Linked DNA regions of Homo sapiens: region 2 is linked to region 1. The links are contacts of gene promoters, found by promoter capture Hi-C in human tissues and cell types (Jung and others, 2019). All regions are on one chromosome and are shown on one strand. Each heading gives the region's core, a stretch centred on a gene start or on the middle of the fragment in contact. The rest is flanking DNA. Distances are from core to core; before and after follow the strand shown.

Region 1 (2,844 bases), core at 1-2,500:
GACCCCAGCAGCCCCTCAGCGCCCCCAGAGCCCGTCAGCGTGGGGGAAAGGATTCAGTGGAGGCTGGCAGGGTCCCTCCAGCAAAGCTCCCGCGGAAAACTGCTCCTGTGTCGGGGCTGACCTCTCACTGCCTCTCGGTGACCTCCGTCCTCTCCCCAGCCTGGCACAGGCCGAGGCAGGAGGAGCCCGGACGGCGGGTAGGACGGAGATGAAGAACATCTGGAGTTGGAGCCGCACATCTGGTCTCGGAGCTCGCCTGCGCCGCTGTGCCCCCCTCCTCCCCGCGCCCCAGTCACTTCCTGTCCGGGAGCAGTAGTCATTGTTGTTTTAACCTCCCCTCTCCCCGGGACCGCGCTAGGGCTCCGAGGAGCTGGGGCGGGCTAGGAGGAGGGGGTAGGTGATGGGGGACGAGGGCCAGGCACCCACATCCCCAATAAAGCCGCGTCCTTGGCCAAGCGGAGCGGTGGTTCCTCAGCGCGTGCGGAGAACGAGGCGGCAGGAGGCGTCCGAGGCGCGAGCTGGAAGTCTCAACCCCCGTCCCACTCCTGCCCAGGCCCCGGGCGCTCCCGCGTCCCCTCCCCGCGCCCGTCGCGGGTCCTACCGAAACTCGGCGGCCGCACAGCGTCGAGACGCCCCCCGTGGGGGCCCGGGGAGCCGGGGCGAAAGGGAGGGTCCCGGAGGTCGGGGAAGAGGGAGAAAGGGAGAAGAAATTCGAGAAACTAGCCACGCGGGGAGAACCAGACAAACCGGGTCCCGGCAGGGCGGGCGCAGCCGCCAGGGCGGAGCCGGGTCTGGGGCCCCGGGAGTGGGGGGCAGGCCCGCGAGCTGGAGGGTACGCTCCGCCTTGGCGGCTCGGGACTAGGGTGGAGGGGCCGGGAGCCCCGGGGCCCGTGCGCTCCGGCTCTGCCGGGCTCCTCGTGACGCGGCACCCACGGCCCCCGGCACCGACGGGAGCCCTGCCCGCGAGGCGAGGGCTCCGCCCTCGGCCCCGCCCCAGGCCGGAGCCCCAAATTCCGGCGGGTGCCCGGGAGCGGGGCGAGGCCCGGAGCGCAGGGGGAGGAAGGCAGCTCCGCACGGGCGGGCGAGGAGCGGGGCGCCCAGGCGCGCGCCAGCCGGGGTGGCCGGGTCGCGAGGCCGCGGGGTAGGCGGCCCGAGCGCGGCTGGACGGCCCCGCCCCTCCCGGCCAGCACCGCCCCCTGCGCGCCCCGCCCCCTCCTTCCCGCAGCCCCCACCCCCGCCCCGGCTCCTCAACACAAACTTTCCGTCCCGCTCGCTCCCTCCTCCGCGCTCGGCGCCTCCCGCTCCAGCCCGGCTCATTCCGCACATTCCGGCCAGCCCCCTCCCCACGACCCCCCTTCCCCGGCCCCCCTTGCGGCTCCCTCGGGCCCGGCGGAGCGGCCCGGCCGGAGCGCCCCCGCGAGCTCGGACCAGGTAAGCCGGGCGGACGCCGGGAGGAGGCCCCGCTCGGGAGAGGTGGTTTGGTTGGTCGGCTGGGCTGGCTGGGGGGGCGACACTCGAGGGGGACTGGGTCCCCGAGCTATTGTCCAGCCGGAGCTGGAGCCCCGGATCGGGGTGCCGGGAAGTTTAGAGGGAAGGGGGAAAATCTCTCCGGGAAGCCCCGCCCCCCGCCCTCCCCACCCCCCCGCGACGGGGACGAGTTGGTCCGGGAAGGTGGGGAAGCCGGGGAGACCGTGTCCCCTGTGCCGTCGCCTGTCCCGCCGTCCGTGCTTGGGGGGTCGGGGCGGGGATCCGGGGGCCGCACAGTGTGGAGGGCCTGCCTGCCACCCTGGAGCTCATATCCGGGGCGCCCAGTCCCGGGCCCCGCCGCCCTTTGGACTCCCGGCCCGCGCGCTCCCGGAGCCCGCCCGGCCTCAGCTCCACGCAGGCCTCGGGCCCGGCCTCCCAGCGCCCAGGCCGGTTTCTGCGCGCGGTGCCGCGGCTGCGCTGGGTTGTGGAGGGTGTCTGGGACCAAAGCCGCGCGCCCCGGCCGTGTGTCCCCTGAGAGGCAGGGAGGGGCTCACGTTCCCTTCAGTTCTGCCGCCTGCGTCGGGGTGCTGATTCAGAGTTCCAGCCCTGAGCGCTGTGAGCTTGGCTCGGAGGGGTCTGGATTTGGGGCCTTTTCTTCCCCACACTTGCTCAGGGCCCTTGTTTAGACTTGACAAGGTTTGAGGGTGGCTGGTCTCCCGCTTCCTACCCCGGTCCCCACCATTGTCTGTCATGCCCTTTATTCCTGCTAGGGGAGGGAGGGCTGGGAGCGCTGGTCTGGATCTGTTTTCCAGCCCAGCTGGGCCCTGGGGCAGTGTCATTGAGACCCCGCTCTGTCAACTTTCCTGGTGAGGGGCCCTGATCCAGGGCTGAGAGATTCTTTCAGTGCGAGGGGGAAGGAGGCCTTGGGGCGGACTTCTCAGGGGCTGTCTTCTTCTGTGTCTTCCCTCTTTCCAGGTAGGGGCAGAACCAGGTCAGGCCTGGACTTGTTGTCCGGAAGAACAGGGCATAGGGGTAGGGGCTGGACACAGCTCAGAGGGGCTGGTGCCCATAGCGGCTCTGCGTATCCAGTCTCTTGTGGCCTGGTTCTCTGTACACATGTTCCACCCCAGTGCTGGGGCCACCTGGGGCAAGGAGGGGAGGCTTTCCTCAAAAGTTGGAGATTTGGGGGAATTATGTCCTCTCCCTTCTAGACTCCTGTAGCCCCCCTCCCACCAAGACCCCTCTCGTAGGGGCACTCCCTAAAGGATGTGGTTCTGTGGTCTTCTGGGTCCCTGCTCACCCAGTGGGCAGAGTGCACAGATCTTCCAGGACAAGGCTGTCCAGTAAGGGTAACTTCAGGGGCCCTGGATGCCCCCT
Region 2 (3,118 bases), core at 271-2,770, 1.0 Mb before region 1:
TGCAGTTATAGTAAACTAGATTTAGAATTCCAAGAGAAAGCAGGGATGAAATCAAATTAAATTTTAAAAGAGCAAGTTGTAGCATTTTTATAGAATTCACTGAAAAGTCTCCGTAGGAGTAGGGCAAATTTTTGAAATATTTATTTATTTTACTTTTTCTGGGATACATACGTGTGCTGAACATGCAGGTTTATTACATAGGTATATATGTGCCATAGTGGTTTGCTGCACCTATCAACCTGTCATCTAGGTTTTAAGCTCCGCATGCATGAGGTATTTGTCCTAATGCTCTCCCTCCCTTTCCCCCCATGCCCCGACAGGCCCCGGTGTGTCATGTTCCTGAAATCTTTATTAAGGCAAAATATCCATCTCAAATCAGCCCTTCCACCCAGTGCCCACAGATACAGTAGGAGAAAATATAGTTAACAAGGGACTGTGCAAGGAACTGAAATGGTAGTGGAAATGCCTTCAAAAATAGGACTGGCTTGCAGAACCCAGGACGGTGGTGAAAAATACCCAATACTTGTAGAAATAACAGAAAGTTAGAGTATACAGTGTTTAAGCCAGAGGGAAAGATAAGAACACATTTTTAATTTATATTAAACAGGATAAAGGAAAATATTGTTGATTATTTATCCCTCCCTTCACCAAAAATGTTAGGATAGTGGATTGCTGAAGTAGGTTAGTCAGAGTTCCCAGAGGAGGCACCCATCTGTTCAGTGTGGCTTGGATGTTGTGTCTAAATGCCAGGAAAGGGAGAAGTGACCTCTTAAGGATCCTTCTGGGGTGATTTCATATGTGAAAAGATTATCCTTAGTCCACTTGGACCTGTTTTCTAGCTGGGTAAGTCACAAACATGACTTGTTACAGAGTTTCAGAATTTCAGTTCCTTCCCGTCTCCTCCCTTTTTTATTTAAATATTAGAAACGACTCCGGAGATCAGCACATGCTCGGAAGGAAACAGAGTTTCTTCGTTTGAAGAGAACAAGACTTGGATTGGAAGATTTTGAGTCCTTAAAAGTAATAGGCAGAGGAGCATTTGGTGAGGTAAAAATCACAGCTACTTGTCAAGTAGAAAAATATTGCAAAACTTCAAAGCTTCTAACATACCATTAAGTCATGATTGTTGATATAACAAATATATGGAATTAAATGAGTCAGGCATGCCAGCCCCACATCCTAATTGCTTTGTCTGTCTGCTTTCTCTTTTTCTTCTCTCCGCAGTCCCAGATCTCTGTTCTCTGTTTTGCCAGAGATGGTGTTGGTGTTTAAATATTGACTTAGGGGGAGAGTTGAAAGGTAGAAGGAAATCAACATTTATTATTTACAGGCTGCTTTTTTCCCATAATCAGGACAGTAACCCATTTTATAGATGGTGAAATTAAGACTCTAAAGGTATATATAATGTCTCTTGTTATCACACAGCCATTGAGTACTGGGACCAAAAGTTGGGCTCTACTTCCTGAACTCAAAGAGCTTGCTTTTCCCAGTACTGCACTGCCTCTCGAGAAGGAAACTAATAGTGTATCTCCACCCTTTATTTCTCCCCACCAGATTGATACAGCTCTAAAAAGATGACCCTAGGAGGGAGGATTTACAGAAAGGAGTTATATAGGTAGTGGTGGAGAGTTGAAAGCATTTGCGACTTTGTCCCCGCAATTCTTGGAAATGATCCTGCTTGGGCACAAGAGCAATCTGTTGGGGAGAGCTTGAAAGAGCCCATGCAAGGTCATTCCTGTTAATGAAAAATGCCCAAACTGGATGACCTACTGACGCAATAATTGCAAGTATAAAAGGAGCAGTATATTATTAAAACCTGGTACCCCGGGGCCAGGCACGGTGGCTCACTCCTGTAATCTCAGCACTTTGGGAGGCCAAGGCGGGCGGATCACAAGGTCAGGAGTTCGAGACCAGCCTGACAACATGGTGAAACCTTGTCTCTACTAAAAATAGAAAAATTAGCCGGGTGTGGTGGCACGTGCCTGTAATCCCAGCTACTCAGGAGGCTGAGGCAGGAGAATTGCTTGAACCCAGGAGGCAGAGGTTGCAGTGAGCCGAGATTGCACCATTGCACTCCAGCCTGGGTGACAGAGCAAGACTCCATCTCAAAAAAAAAAAAAAACAAAAAACCTGGTACCCCGGGGAAATGTGAATAGTATTCAGAGGCACAGGTGATAGATTGATCCCTCAGTGTTCAGAATTCCTATTGGCTTCTTGAAAGAGGGAAAAGTATAGTACCACCTCTGAAAGAGCTTTCTGTTTGGCAAGGAAGGGTTGTGGTACTCAATTAGGAAAAACATGAAGAAAGGTTCAGGGAGAAGAAAACCTACTTATTTTGGGAGAAGAGGGGAGGACATGCAGGAACTTGCAGTGAAATTTTTCTTTTGGTTGTAAATTTTCTTCATAAAATTATCTGTTTTCTTTAAGAACATTGGAAAACATAAAAGAGAAGGAAAACTACATAAAACACAATTTCCCTAATTACACATTTTGAATTTTCTTCTTCTTCTTTTTTTTTTTTTTTTTTTTTTTGAGACAGAGTCTTGCTCTGTTGCCCAGGCTGGAGTGCAATGGCTTGATCTTGGCTCACTGCAACCTCCGCCTCTCGGGTTCAAGTGATTCTACTGCCTTAGCCTCCCGAATAACTGGGATTACAGGCACCTGCCACCACACCCAGCTAATTTTCGTATTTTTAGTAGACGGGGTTTCACCAGGTTGGCCAGGCTGGTCTCGAACTCCTGGACCTCAGGTGATCCACCTGCTTCGGCCTTCCAAAGTGCTGAGATTATAGGTGTGAGCTACCGCGCCTGGCCTGAATTTTTTGTTTTTCTTTCCAGACGTTTTTCCTAAGCATGAAGTTTTACTTTGTTATTATTATTATGATTAAGTGACAAGGTTTCACTGTGTTGCCCAGGCTGGAGTGCAGTGGCTGTTTACAGGCACGATCTCACTACTGATTGGCATGGGAGTTTTGACCTGCTCCATTTCTGAACTGGGCCTGTTTGCCCTTCCTTAGGCAACCTGGTGGGCCCCCCCTCTGCCACCCTGCTCCTGGGAGGTCACCATATTATGCTGAACTTAGTTCAGACACCTGATCAGCATAATGCACCATAGCTCA

Evidence for each region. The method cuts DNA at HindIII sites, captures the fragments that hold promoters and counts their contacts. A contact is called where the count stands out against the background at its distance.
Region 2: a contact is called between a fragment that was not itself captured here and the fragment with the promoter of TEAD3 in region 1, in 1 of the 25 tissues and cell types used here (dorsolateral prefrontal cortex).

What each region holds. Positions count from the first base shown.
Region 1 is chr6:35,495,485-35,498,328 of GRCh38, reverse strand. TEAD3 (TEA domain transcription factor 3) reads left to right here and starts at 1,250. Exons shown (of 13, transcript NM_003214.4): 1 at 1,250-1,431. TULP1 (TUB like protein 1) reads left to right here. Exons shown (of 15, transcript NM_003322.6): 15 at 1-455. The coding sequence ends at 2. LOC124901309 (a long non-coding RNA gene) reads right to left here and starts at 196. Exons shown (of 2, transcript XR_007059561.1): 1 at 122-196. RefSeq lists enhancers at 1-343, 344-1,274, 2,221-2,844 and silencers at 743-1,072, 1,083-1,212, 1,393-1,442. The HindIII fragment of the contact is 31,199 bases long and covers 1-2,844 here.
Region 2 is chr6:36,522,270-36,525,387 of GRCh38, reverse strand. It overlaps STK38 (serine/threonine kinase 38), which reads left to right. Exons shown (of 14, transcript NM_007271.4): 4 at 925-1,047. It also overlaps the pseudogene RN7SL748P. Among named protein-coding and RNA genes, the nearest start is that of STK38, 24 kb to the left of the region's middle. The HindIII fragment of the contact is 7,855 bases long and covers 1-3,118 here.